5 separate regions of the Homo sapiens genome follow, and regions 2, 3, 4 and 5 are each linked to region 1. The links are contacts of gene promoters, found by promoter capture Hi-C in blood cells and fetal thymus (Javierre and others, 2016). All regions are on one chromosome and are shown on one strand. Each heading gives the region's core, a stretch centred on a gene start or on the middle of the fragment in contact. The rest is flanking DNA. Distances are from core to core; before and after follow the strand shown.

What was found. The method cuts DNA at HindIII sites, captures the fragments that hold promoters and counts their contacts. A CHiCAGO score of 5 or more calls a contact.
Region 2: a contact is called between a fragment that was not itself captured here and the fragment with the promoter of ZW10 in region 1, in 1 of 17 cell types (total B cells). The highest score is 5.3, in total B cells.
Region 3: a fragment that was not itself captured here is called in contact with the fragment with the promoter of ZW10 in region 1 in 1 of 17 cell types (total B cells); the score reaches 9.5 in total B cells.
Region 4: a contact is called between a fragment that was not itself captured here and the fragment with the promoter of ZW10 in region 1, in 3 of 17 cell types (M0 macrophages, M1 macrophages and M2 macrophages). The highest score is 6.0, in M0 macrophages.
Region 5: a fragment that was not itself captured here is called in contact with the fragment with the promoter of ZW10 in region 1 in 6 of 17 cell types (total CD8 T cells, M2 macrophages, M0 macrophages and 3 more); the score reaches 8.6 in total CD8 T cells.

Annotation. Positions count from the first base shown.
Region 1 is chr11:113,772,438-113,775,137 of GRCh38, forward strand. It overlaps ZW10 (zw10 kinetochore protein), which reads right to left and starts at 1,255. Exons shown (of 16, transcript NM_004724.4): 1 at 1,125-1,255. The coding sequence starts at 1,229. RefSeq lists enhancers at 986-1,255, 1,386-1,445. The HindIII fragment of the contact is 9,750 bases long and covers 1-1,887 here.
Region 2 is chr11:113,377,898-113,380,597 of GRCh38, forward strand. No RefSeq gene overlaps it. Among named protein-coding and RNA genes, the nearest start is that of ANKK1, 8.5 kb to the right of the region's middle. The HindIII fragment of the contact is 5,570 bases long and covers 1-2,700 here.
Region 3 is chr11:114,274,077-114,276,776 of GRCh38, forward strand. It overlaps a transcript of NNMT not described here. Among named protein-coding and RNA genes, the nearest start is that of NNMT, 21 kb to the right of the region's middle. The HindIII fragment of the contact is 1,048 bases long and covers 799-1,846 here.
Region 4 is chr11:113,338,603-113,341,302 of GRCh38, forward strand. TTC12 (tetratricopeptide repeat domain 12) reads left to right here. Exons shown (of 22, transcript NM_017868.4): 9 at 172-232; 10 at 684-872; 11 at 2,062-2,131. Among named protein-coding and RNA genes, the nearest start is that of TTC12, 25 kb to the left of the region's middle. The HindIII fragment of the contact is 4,416 bases long and covers 1-2,700 here.
Region 5 is chr11:113,319,086-113,321,785 of GRCh38, forward strand. The region is part of intron 2 of TTC12 (tetratricopeptide repeat domain 12); the gene reads left to right. Among named protein-coding and RNA genes, the nearest start is that of TTC12, 5.9 kb to the left of the region's middle. The HindIII fragment of the contact is 8,883 bases long and covers 1-2,700 here.

The DNA.
Region 1 (2,700 bases), core at 5-2,504:
GCCCTTATGGTGTGTGGCAAACTTGCTCCCTCGAAACCCTACTTGACTCAGATACACAAAATTTTAAATGAAAGCAACTGAAGATGTGGACAAATACTGGCAAGGTAACAATATCAGTACAAAGCAAAACTGTGTGTGGCTACGTGCTTCCAGTTTTTGTATCAATCTCAAGGCAGCAACGTTTACGTAGGTACCAATGACACTCAGCACAGCTTCATGTGCTTGTAGATGAAGTTTTAAAACCACATTAAGAGGCCGGAGACGGTGGCTTACACCTGTAATCCCAGCACTTTGGGAGGCCGAGGCGGGTGGATCACCTGAGGTCAAGAGTTCGAGACCAGTCTGGCCAACATGGTGAAACTCCGTCTGTACTAAAAATACAAAAAAAAAAAAAAAAAAATTAGCCAGGCGTGGTGGCACGCGCCTGTAATCTCAGCTACTCGGGAGGCTGAGGCAGGAGAATCGCTTGAACCCGGGAGGCAGAGGTCGCGGTGAGCCGAGATCACTCCAGCCTGGGCGACAGAGCAAGACTCCATCTCAAAAGATAGATAGATACATAAAAATAAAAACATACTGAGGGTTTGGGTTTGTTTTTTTTTTAATGTCGGGGAGGAGAAAGGTGCAATCCTCCAGGCTATTTTATTCATCAACAAATCAAGGAGTGGGTGGAGGAAATAAACACTCATCGATGGAAGAAGGGGAAGGGGGATCCTGTCTTTTCTATTCCTCTCCTGCGCTCGCTCCCTAGCTTCCTCGGAGCTTCCAGTTGCTCCTCCCGCTCTGCTGGTCTCTTCAGTCTCCCTCTTCCCGCGGCACACCCCTCCCCAACATAACTCCACTCTCCAGTGCTCTCCAGCCACCGCCTGTTCGTCCCCACAGTCCCAGGTCTCCTCGCCTCCTCAGTTCCCAACCCCTGTGTGGGCTCCCCTCCAAGATCCCTCCTCAATCCACACATTCTGGGCCCCTCCACTCCTCATTCAGCCCCCACAACTAGATCTCCCCAACAGGCCCCACTCTGCTGGTCCCCACTCTGTCTGCCCTTAGCCCCTGACTCCTCTCTCCAGTCCCTTCACACAAGGACCCGGAGTCCCCTTCCAGTCAGCAGACAGCTGCCCCGCTCTCACCTTGATCTCCTCCACCCGCCGGGTCAGGCGGCTGATCCGGGTCCCCAGATCCTCCTTTTCCAGCCTCCCGGAGTGTGCCAAAACTTCTGTCACGAACGAGGCCATGGCCAAGACGGGAACCAACGCTGACTGGGTCACTCTCGTAGCCAGCGCCGCAGCTCCCGTCCCGCCGGCCGTCTTGACGCGAGGCCTGCCGGGAAACGGAGTCTCGCGGGCCTCAGACCGCCGCCCGGAAGGCGAGGGGCGCACTACAACTCCCAGCAGGCACCGCGCCAATCCCGAGATGGGATTTCCACGGTGTCCCGTAGTTGGCAAACTGTAAGCAGACGCGTTTTCTTCCTTAGTTGTTTTCAAAGTTCGTTGCTTCCCGCCCGTTTTTCACTGGAGGAAATTAAACGTTTTTAATAACCAGGTCTAACTGAACCTTTCTAAACTTCAAAAGGCTTACTTGTAAAATTATCTAACTGAAAGAGCCAACGAGCCCATCTCGATCTTTTTTCCTCAACTTTTATTGGGCCGCTGTGGCACCAGAATCTACGAATGGCGCCCTCTAGAGTTGTGTAAAGAAGTGGCGTCACCTCATTATAAATAAAAGGTTGCTTATAATTGCATCTATGTACATATATTACATCTACGTGATACATTACACATTTACATTACCTACATTACATATTTATATTACTTAGATATACATAATATTAGTCCTGTGTGAACAAGATACTTAGTACTTTCTGTCATATTATAAATATATAAATGTGTCAAAAGCTTTTAAAAATGGTTTCATTATTTTAATGCATTGCATACAGAAAGATGTTCACAATATTCTATGTATACTATGATTCCTTTTTAAAAACTTAAGTGTATAACCATTGGTCAGAAAACAAAAAGTATGTAAGTATGTATGTAAAGGACAGACATCAAATTATCCTATGGGTGGTGGATTTATGGTATTTATTCTCTTCTCTGCCCTTGCTTTCTCTATTTTTCTGCAGTAAACATACACAGTCCTCCCTTGGTATGGGGGGATTGGTTCCAGAAACCTCCCCTGCCCCAGTAGCAAAATCCGTGGATGCTCAAGTCTCTTACATAAAATGATGTAATGTTTACAAGTAACCAGCACACATCCTCCCCATACACTTTAAATCATCTCTTGATTACTTATAAGACCTAATACAAATCAATCTAAATGCTATAGAGTCGTTATATTGTATTTTGATTTGCATTATTTTTTGTTGTTGTATTGTTATTTTTTATTAGTTTTTTCCAGAATATTTTTGATCTGTGGTTGGTTGGATCCGTGGATACCAAGAGCCAGATGTACTGTTTTGATTAAAAGGTTTTTGGTTTTTTAAAAAGATATATTGTGAGGGTTGACCCCAAGTAGGCACTGACTCTAAGATCCCTGACAATTGTTAAGTGTCTTTGAGACAATCTGCTTATCCCAGTGAAGCAAGGGCCAATTCACATGCCATGAGCAAAGGAAACAAAACTGGGATTGAGAGAGGAAGCACTGAAAACAGCCAAAACATCCTGAGAAACTCCCTTCCTTGGAAAACCAAATCAATTTCTTTTTGGT
Region 2 (2,700 bases), core at 34-2,533, 390 kb before region 1:
GTTACTGGTTAAAAAGCGTTTTGACAGTCCCAGGGACACATTGCTTTCTTTCCAACCAAAACTGTAGAGACAAAGACACATTTCCACTGCAACTAAGTAATCCCGAAGTTTCTCCATAAGCCAAATTTGATTGAGCTAATACTGACCTTTCCACAGGCACAGCTTCCAAAGATATCTTTTTGCTGCAGGCAAAGTCCTGATGAGCATATTAGTCAAAGCTCCACCTCTTCAGTACCAGCACACCCACCCTCTCTTTTCTCTTCCTTTCAGGTTGAAGGAGAACAGGGAGTGTCTCTAAATTTCCACAGCTGATTTTTCTCCCCCCAGGAGGTCCTATTGTTCAGGCCTGGCCTGGGGAGCACGTGACACCCCACCCCACCGCCAGCAATGGATAAGCCTCAGGCTCAGAGTCCTGTATTTGATTTGATCAAGGCTATTCTGGCCATATGTTAAGAGCAATGTACCTTGGCAGGAAGCAAGCCAGGTTTAAGTCCTGGGCCACTGAATTGCCAACTGCGTGACCCAAGGCTCCTCTAAACCTGCAAAAATGGAAATAATAATAGTACCAAACTCAGAGGGTTGTCAAGAAAATTAAATGAGATAATGCAAGTTGAGCACTTGGGATGGAGTGTCTGGTTTGAAGCAAAGGCTGGCTAAATGACCATCTGATTATTGCTTTGGCCCCTGAAGCCTCGCCATCAATTTGTTCTCTCATTCATCAGAACAGCCCTTTGCTTGGAAAACCATACTTATAAAAATATGAAGCATCGTAAATGATCATAAGGAAACCGACCGGGGGAAGGTAGCAATGATGGGAATCTCTAAGGATCTCTCCCAGGAGAATCTGCCTAGGGGTTTTAGTGGCCTGACCCTGGGGAGGCAGGTTGGAGAAAACTGTAAAGGAAAAGCCTGGTCTGCTACAAAATGACTCAGAACCTACTCAGACTAGAGAAGTCTCTGAAAAAAGGCTAGAAATCAACCTTCACCCCGGGAGATTCACCTTCCTGTTCATTCATCCATTCATTCATTCATTCATTCATTCATTCATTCATTCATTCATTCATCAAATGTTAAATGAGCTCCCTCCTACATGGCCAAGTACTGAGGATAGAGCAGAGAACAAGATTCCTGTCCAGGAGCCCATATTCTATTGGTCTATTTAAGTTTCTTTGACTTTTAAGAATTGTATTCTTCACAACCACCTATACCACATAGTGAAACAAACAAACAAAATATTTTCTTCTTTTTCAACTTGTATTTTAGATTCAGTGGGTGCATGTGCAGGTTTGTTGCATGGGTATATTGTGTGATGCTGAGGTTTGGGGTATGAATGATCCTATCACCCAGGGAGCAAGCAAACAAGCATAGCACCCGACAGGTAGTTTTTCAACCCTTGCCCCCTCCCTTCTCCACCCCCAGTAGTTCCCAGTGTCTGTTATTCCCATCTTTCTGTCTATGTATACCTAAGGTTTGGCTTCCACTTACAAGTGAGAACATGTGGTATTTGGTTTTCTGTTTCTGTGTTAATTCACCACTTAGGATAATGGCCTCCAGCTGCATCTGTGTTGTTGCAAAGGACATGATTTCATTCTTTTTTATGGCTGCATAGTAGTCCATGGTGTATATGTACCACATTTTCTTTATCCAATCCACCATTGATGGGCTCCTAGGTTGATTCCATGTCTTTGCCATTGTGAACAGTGCTGTGATGAACATATGAATGCACATGTCTTTTTGGTAGCAAGATTTATTTTATGCCTAGTAATAGGATTGCTGGGTTGAATGTTAATTCTAAGTTTTTTGGGAAATATTCAGCTTGCTTTCACAGTGACTGAACTAATTTGCACTACCACAAACAGTGTATAAGTGTTCCCTTTTCTCCACAGCCTCACCAGCATTTGTTATTTTTTGTTTTTTTTTTAAATAATAGCCATTATTAAAATGGTTGCTGCAAAACAGTAACTCATTGTGATTTTGATTTGCATTTCTCTAATGATTACTGATGTTGAGCACTTTTTCATATATGTGTTGGCCGCAGGTATGTCCTCTTTTGAGATGTTCTGTTCATGTCCTTTGCCCACTTTTTATTTTTTATTTTATGTTTCCATAGGTTATTGGGGTACAGGTAGCATTTGGTTACATAAGTAAGTTCTTTGGTAGTGATTTGTGAGATTTTGGTGCACCCATCACCTGAGCAGTATATACTGCCCCCTATTTGTAATCTCTTATCCCTTGTCCTCCTCCCACCCTTCCCCCCAAGTCCCCAAAGTCCATGGTATGGTTCTTATGCCTTTGTGTCCTCATAGCTTAGCTCCCACATATCAGTGATAACAAACAACATTTAGTTTTCCATTACTGAGATACTTCACTTAGAATAGTAGTCTCCAATCTCATCCAGGTCCATGAAAATGCTGTTAATTCATTCCTTTTTATGGCTGAGTAGTATTCCATCATATATATGTATATCTCACAGTTTCCTTTTCCACTAGTTGATTGATAGGCATTTTGGTTGGTTCCACAATTTTGCAATTGAGAATTGTACTGCTGTAAATGTGTGTGCAAGTATCTTTTTCATATAATGACTTCTTTTCCTCTGGGTAGATACCTAGTAGTGGGATTGCTTGATCAAATGGTAGTTCTACTTTTAGTTCTTTAAGGAATCTCCACACTGTTTTCCATAGTGGCCATATAGTTTACATT
Region 3 (2,700 bases), core at 73-2,572, 500 kb after region 1:
GCTGGGGACTGTGCTCAGTCATGTCTAAGGCTGTTAGTGCAGATAAAATTCCAAATCTTAGAGTCTGCATTCCCAAGTGGTTGACTCTCTACACCCCAAACAAACGTGTCTCTCTAAGAAGTCTAGAGAAAGTAGAACCTTTTGGGAAAGGTGGACCTCAGAGCCATGCTTCGATACTGACGATTTAGAAATATTCTTGTTCTAAAACAGGTGGGCTGATAGGAAAGTGACTAATTGGCATTGGCCCTGAGGCCACCATTATCAGCTCCTCTCTGCCTGTGAGTCTTTCTAGGAGACCATTGCCTCCAACTACATGGACAAGAATGTCCTGGAGCTGAACAGGTAGCAGAGACAGAGGCTGCAGTCATTTGACTGGTCTCCAGTGGTAAAATATGTATGTGAGCTTGAAGGGATTAGGCAAGGAGTTCGGTGTTTGTTTTTGCACCTTGAGGATGCCAGAGCTTCACGTGGCTCTCTGAACTAAGAATTTTCTGTGGGGCTCATGTAGAAATGGCAAGAAAGATGGAGACTAAGAAAGAAGGATGTCAGTGGAACTGCAGGAAGAAGAAAGGAAGAGTGAGTTCTATAAAGCCCCAAGGAGGGAACCAAAGTAGATGGCTAGAGACAAGCCTGGAGCCAGAAAGAAACTGTCCCAGATGCCAAGATCTGAGCCCAAGCATATGCATAACAGGCAGGATGACAGTCAGCTGGCTTTTGATGGCAGGCAACCGTTCTGACTGGTCAGTGTTCCTGTTGTTCCAATTGCAACCTCCAGACTTTTGACCCTAAACCTGTGGAAGCTTTCTGTGGGTCTCCTGAGGTGACCTCTCACTGCTGGGAACAGGGAAACACAGAGAAGGCCATCGCTGGGATTGGAGTTGGGAATGGAATTAAGACCAATCTAACTTTGAGGCAGAATAGAATTTACTTACCTTGCGTAATTTCAGGCACCAGGAAAGTTCTCCATAGCATCTTCACTCCCAAAATACCCCACATCCTAGTTAAGTAAGAAGGTTGAAGTTGTTCATTAGGTCCTTCTTCATTTTGCTTAAGACAATAACATTTGTAATACACTATTGAAGAGCTGTAAAGAGTAACCCTTTAAGTGCTAGTCCTTATTCATACCTCAGTATGAATGAGCCTCATAGCCTATACTAGGTATTTAAGAAGAGAATGTGACAACTGAGTGGAGTGTGTAGCCAGGAGCCACTGGAAGGGAAAGATGATGGAGGTACTGGATGTCCTCAACAACATCTACCAAGCTCACTTTGTATTAATAGTTTTGCTCTGCTGGTTCCAGGCAGACTTTCCATTTCCCTTTGCACTTGGCTGACTTGTTTTAAGTCATGGACCAGGCAGAGAAAGAATGGGCTGATTGTCAGAAGCACATTGCAGAGACAGCCGGCAAGTGGAAAGAGCACTGACTGCAGGGTTGGCGGTCCCTAGGCTTGCCCGTGCCAATAGCTGATGTCATGACTGCATCTCCAGGACTCAGTGTCTTCATCTGTAAAAGGAGTGACCTGATTCTGATATTCTGAGATTCTGTGAGTGTGTGTATGGCTTGGGGTTAGGGTTATGGTTAGGTTTTGTGTTAGAATATTCTGATATCTTGCGAGTGTGTGTATGGGTTTAGGGTTAGGGTTAGAATATTCTGATATCTTGTGAGTGTATAGGGGTTATGGTTATGGTTAGGGTTAGGATTTGAATATTCTGATATCCTGTGAGTTGTGTATATGTTAGGGGTAGGGTTACAGTTAAGATTAGGGTTAGAATATTCTGTTATCCTGCAAGTGTGTGTATGAGATGCAGAAAATGACCAGGAGTGATCTATATGTCCCATGAGGTAAGCTTGACCCAGCTGGCCACTCTTTCCATTTCCTTCTTTCCAGAGAGAAGTGGGCTGAAAAGGAGGAGTGTTTAAGGAAAGCGACTCAAATGTGCTTACATGTGACATTTGGAAAGAATGGCCTCTGAAACCTGCAGTCCTGCCCCTGGCCGACTGCCTCGTTTTCTCCCTGTGGTTTCAGGCTGCCCCCCCACCCACCCTGGGTACCTGCCAAGGCACCTTGTGCCAACTTGGGACCCTGCTTCAACCCAGGGACCGTATGCTGCAAGCAGAGGCTTTGAGACCAGTGTCTACATGGTGGGGGACAAGAGGTTCTCCACACTGCCCCTAGAGAGGAATTTCTGCAGGAGCCCCTGCAGGAGACAGGCTTGGATTTGGAGAAGTTGGAGAAGGCTCAGCAGGCAGCTGAGAGCCACTTCCACGACTGCCCAGTTGACCCAGAGATGTTCTCTGTGGCCCGGCGAAGGGACTGATGCAGCAGACTTGGTAGGAGCTAGGAGTGCACAGGGGCAGGATTTCCAGATGCCATCCTGCTACCTCATTTGCTTTCCTCTTCGTTTAGTCTGTTTTATTTAGAAACCTTACCAGCAAATGCTTTTAGAGTCTTATTATACATGATTGCCAGGTAAATAGGAATGTTGATCTCAAACAGAGAGGTTTATAATATGCTCCACTCATGGCCCAGGGAGGGAGAGAAAGAATTAGACCAGAGAAATAAAGCTGTGCTTCTTCTTGTTTCAAGGGCTCTGCAGGGTTGCATAGAGAGAAGAGGGGAGAGCCCCCCATGATCTCCTAGTTTAGGCCATTTGTCACCACACAACTTCTGAGCCCATTCAGCACCTCCATCCTCACCC
Region 4 (2,700 bases), core at 6-2,505, 430 kb before region 1:
CCTGAACAAAAATGTCAAATGCACATTGTGTTCCTATGCCTGTCTCCTGCACTGGGAGCAGGAGGAGGTGAGGAGAAAATAATGAAGCAGCCAAGCCCAATGACACCCAGTGTCTTTCTCATAATCACCTTTACCCCAACCACTCTTCAAGGTCTTGTTTCTTTTTTCCAGTCTAGAGAGTGTTATAAGAAGATCTTAGAAATAAACCCCAAGCTGCAAACCCAGGTGAAAGGTGAGCACGTTCCTGCTGAGGTCCTTCATCTGAACTCCACCTCCCTCTGCCCCCTGCCTTAGAATGCCTTCCGTGCTTTCACTGCCCTTGGCCACTAGGCAGCGGCGGATCCTCTTTCCTGCACAGTTGGGTCCTCTGTGTTAACCAGCCCACTCTGCTCCTCTGTTTGCTGTGCTCCCTTGCAAATAGTAATATTTTCCTTCTTCATTTTCTACACCATCCTCCCTTAGACACTTTTAGACTCCCTTGAATCCCCAACAAGGTTTAAGATTCTGGTTGTAGATTTAGACTGTTTCTAAAATTTTCCTTGCTAACGAAGAGTTTTAATTATTTTAATGCTTTATGCTTCTCAAACTCCCATCCTCAAAAGAAAGGAAAAAAAAAGGTTGCTTCTTGTGTGGTATTGTTGATTGTTAGGGTTTTGTTTTGCTTTCCTTTCTTGTTTTTCTAGGTTACCTGAATCAAGTAGATCTTCAGGAAAAAGCAGACCTTCAAGAAAAGGAAGCCCACGAACTGCTGGATTCAGGAAAGAACACAGCCGTGACCACCAAGAACCTCCTGGAGACCCTTTCCAAGCCTGACCAGATCCCCTTGTTCTATGCTGGGGGGATTGAGATCCTGACTGAAATGATAAATGAGTGTAAGCCAGAGATGTGTGTGATCTCATGAGTGCTGTCAGTGTGAAGGGACACATTCAGAGGTCTGCCTTTACCAGGCCAAGAATCCCTCCCTTCCTTCCACAAATATTGATTAAAGATATACGCTAATGTAGCTGCTAAAAGGGGTGCACAAGAAATGTCCTCCGACTTCTGCTCCATCCTCTCTACAGAGCATGCGTACACTCAGCACACATGCAATAAACATACACAACACAACACGTACACGTGGCACACACTCGATATATACTTACATACACCACACATGCACTCAGCTTTCACTCACTTGAATATATCCTTGTATTACACACACACCACATACCACACACAGCACACTCACACCATAAGTACTCATGTCAGTCCACATATCCTGCGCACACTCCACCCTCACATTTTCACCACACACCCCATGCACATCCTGCGTGTACTCCACACATACCCCCACAGACACCTCAAGCATCCCATACCACCTCGTACACCTTCCCTCCACTGTGGAGGAATGGAAGACAGAATTTTGTAGGTTAAACTGTAAGGTTCACCCAGTTACAGTTAATGGCTGCATAGGATGTGAAAATGGTTTCAGAGCAAACATCAGCTCTCCTACTAATGAGGGCCATACTGTTCTCTTTTACTAGCTCTTGTAAACATTGTTACCAAGGCTTAAATAATCTCTATACTCAGTGACAGCATGTTGTTTGTACAAATAGATGGAGTGTCTGACTTCTCTTTAGTGTACAATGGAGGGCACACAAATATCCCCTTCAGCAGTTTCTTGGAGATTATAAATTCCTCTCTGGAGCTTGGAAATAGCTTTGAAATAAATATTTAAGAACAGATGGATATGCTGGTACTTCCCATAGGTTAAGCAGCTCTGGGAGGCTCTCTGAAGATTACAGAATGATGAGCTGTGCAGATAGCCCTCGGGGCCACCCCAGCTCTGCTCTCCTTCTCTAAACAGTCCCTCCGCCTGAGAGGCACTGAGGCCTCTGACGCTGAGAGGCTGCTGACCATTGTATGTTTCAAAATGTAAAGTTCATTTGTTCCTGCCAAACCATTCACGTGGGTACCGTGGCATTCCATATTAGGTTTCTCATTAGCAGGTGGCTGTGTTGCAGCGAGACACCAGCCAGCCAGTTTGGGAGTCTGAAGTGGTTTTCTTTGTATCTGTTTCAGGCACAGAACAAACTTTATTCAGAATGCACAATGGATTTAGTATCATCAGTGACAACGAGGTCATAAGAAGGTAGGGATGTTCATAGAGACAGCCCAGCAGCAAAGCAAGGGAAGATAACCACTGCTTATGAAATCAGACACGAGGCACATAGACAGTCACGTTTCTGAACATTACCCCCCTTCAGTCAGTAGTGGGGGGCTCTCCAGGAGTGCAAAGCTACTCCACGAACATCTTTGAGTGCTTTCCCTCAAGACATTGGAGTTACACTGCAGCTAACAATTGAGGCTGGGCGCGGTGGCTCATGCCAGTAATCCCAGCATTTTGGGAGGTCAAGGCGGGCGGATCACTTGAGGTCAGGAGTTTGAGACCAGCCTGGCCAACATGGTGAAACCCCGACTCCACTAAAAATACAAAAATTAGCTGGGCATGGTGGCAGGCACCTGTAATCCCAGCTGCTCAGGAGGCTGAGGCACGAGAATCGCTTGAATCTGAGAGGCGGAGGTTGCAGTGAGCCGAGATCACGCCACTGTACTCCAGCCTAGGCGATACAACCAGATTCAGTCTCAAAAAAAGGAAACAATTGAAGAGAGAGGAACAGCAGCACTTCCCAGGGCTCCTCTAAGCTCTTCAAAGTCAGA
Region 5 (2,700 bases), core at 136-2,635, 450 kb before region 1:
CACAATTTCAGATAGATGATCAAGGTTAACCTCCTGATAAATCACACTGATGGCATGCATCCCTGATACGCCATAATGTGCCATGGTCTTTTTCCCCAAATCCTGTAACTCCAGTCTAACCGTGAGAAAAATACCAGATAAACCCAAATTGCAAGGTATTCTATGCAAACTCATAGAATGTCAAGGTCATCAAAACTGTCAAGGTCATCAAAATAAGGAAAGGGTGAGAAATTGTCGCAGCCTAGAGAAGCCTAAGGAGACATGACTAAATGTCGTGTAGTGTTCTGGATGGGATCCTGGAATAGGAAAAGGGCATTAGGGAGAAAAAACAATGAAATTAGAATAAAGTGTGCAGTTGAGTTAATTTAAAAAAAAGTTAATTAAAAGACATGAAAGAAGAGCTAAATAAATGGAGACGTATTTAATCCTAGGAAGACTTATTTGGTAAAAATGTCAATTTTTAAAATATTCTATGCAGTAAATACAATTTAGATCAAAACCCGCAAAGTAGTATGTACTAAAATTCAGCAAGCTGATTCCAAAGTTTACGTGGAAGAGCAAAGGACCAAGAAGAGCCAAGAAAACTCTGCAGGAAAAAAAAAAAAAGCAGGACAACTTTCCCTACCTGACATTCAAGATTTATTATAAAGCCATAGTAATCAATGCATGGAGGTTTTCGTGCTGGAAAGGACAATCAGGGGAAAGGAATGAAGAGCCTGGAGAAGATTTGCACACATAACAGGGATGATGAGACACATTGCTGGCAGGGACTTCTCAACAAATAATGCTCCTGCCCTACGTGAAAGTCAACTCTAGGTGAATTACATACCTTAGTAAGAAAAAAACTTTAAAACTTTTATAAGACACCATAAGAGAGTATATTTATAACCTTACTGACACAAAAGACCTAAATTGTAAAGGAAAAGATGGTATATTTAACACACTAAAATTAAAAAGAAAATCTCTTCAACAACATATTCCATAAAAACAAATGAAAAGACAAAGAATACCCAAGGGGAAGATGTTTGGAAATACATGTAACCAGTCCAGAATATATACAACTGATACGGGTAGGAGATGGGAATAGTGGATAGAAGAGGGTGGTTCCCTGGCAAAGACCCCACCCTCAAGCCGGGAGATCTGCAGCGCTAAGTGGAAACAGGCATTTCTGTTTTCGTGCCCAAAAAGTTGCCTTTTGGCCTGCCATGCTCCCCTATCCTGTGCCCATGTAAACTCTGAACCCCAGGCTCCAGAAGCAGACGAGCAGGTGAGATGAGGACACAAGCAGACAAATGGCAGAACGACACAGTAGAGAAAAGAGGAGGAATGTCTGAACGCCGAGAGGAGTTTGGCTGGGAGCAGCCAGAGGGGAGTTGGGCCACTGGATGGCCAGGCTCCAGGGGAAGATCATCTTTCCCCTCCATTCCCCCTTCCAGCTCCCCATCCATCCCACTGAAAGCCACCTCCACCACTCAGTAAAACCCCACATTCATCCTTTAGTCCTGTGTGTGACCTGATTCTTCCGGGGATGCTGGGCAAGAGCTCGGGATACAAAAAGCTGTCACTTCCCTCTGCCCTTGTGAAAAGGCAGATGTCCGTCAAGCTGGTTAACAATCAAGTCGTCCGCAGATGGCAGGGCTAAAAGGACACGCTGTAACACGTGCCCAACTGGGCTCCTGCACTTGTCCGTCTGCGTTCTCCCCCTCCCCTCAGGGGTTTGAGCAGTGGTGGTGACTAAACAGGCAAGCCACACCCCTGTCGCATGTCCTGCGAGGGGGATCAGAGAACTCCCCTGTTTCACAATCAAATCAACCAGGCATGGTGGTGTGTGCCTGTAGTCTTTGCTACTCAGGAGGCTGAAGCAGGAGGATCGCTTGAGCCCAGGGGTTCAAATCGAGCCTGGACAACATAGCAAGACCATCTCTTAAAAAAAAAAGAATTTTTTAAAAAAGAAATTATATTAACTAATAAGAAAGAGACAATGACCCAATAGAAAATTGGCCAAGGATAGGAGTAGGCTCTTCGTAGAAATCCAAATGGGTGCAAATCAATAAGAAGATGCTCAATTCCAATCAAATTCAGCGAAATGCAAATTAAAACAATGAGATACCATTCCCATCCATTACATTGACAACAATTAAAAAGTTTAACCCAGCAAGTGATGATAAGAATGTAGAAGAATGGGAACTTCCTCTTGTACTCTTTTGTAGGAGTAAAAATTGGTACAGCCATATCCTGAAGGATATGTAACATGTGCACAAGGAAATATGTACATACAGGTATTCAATTCAGCATTTATTTACTTTAGAAAAAACTGAAAAACCACCTGGCTATCAATAAGAGAATGGATTAACTATGGTATATATAATGGTTTAAATGAATCAACTGGAACCATGTGTATCAAGAACACATCTCTAAAGCATCTTAAGAGAAAAAAGTAGGTTGCAAATGAATGCACATTTTATACAACTATTTTAAAAAATTGTTTAAATATTACATACACAAATATTCTGGTAGATTGCAAGAATGGTTACAAATTCCTTTCTTCCCATCAAGAGTGGAGCCTATTTCTCTGCCACTTGAATCTGGGTTGGCCATGTGTGTTGCTTTGGCCAAAAGGATGTTTGCAAACATGACACAAGCAGAGGCTTGAAAAGTGCATTTGAATTAGGGCTTGCACTCATACCACTCATGAGAAAG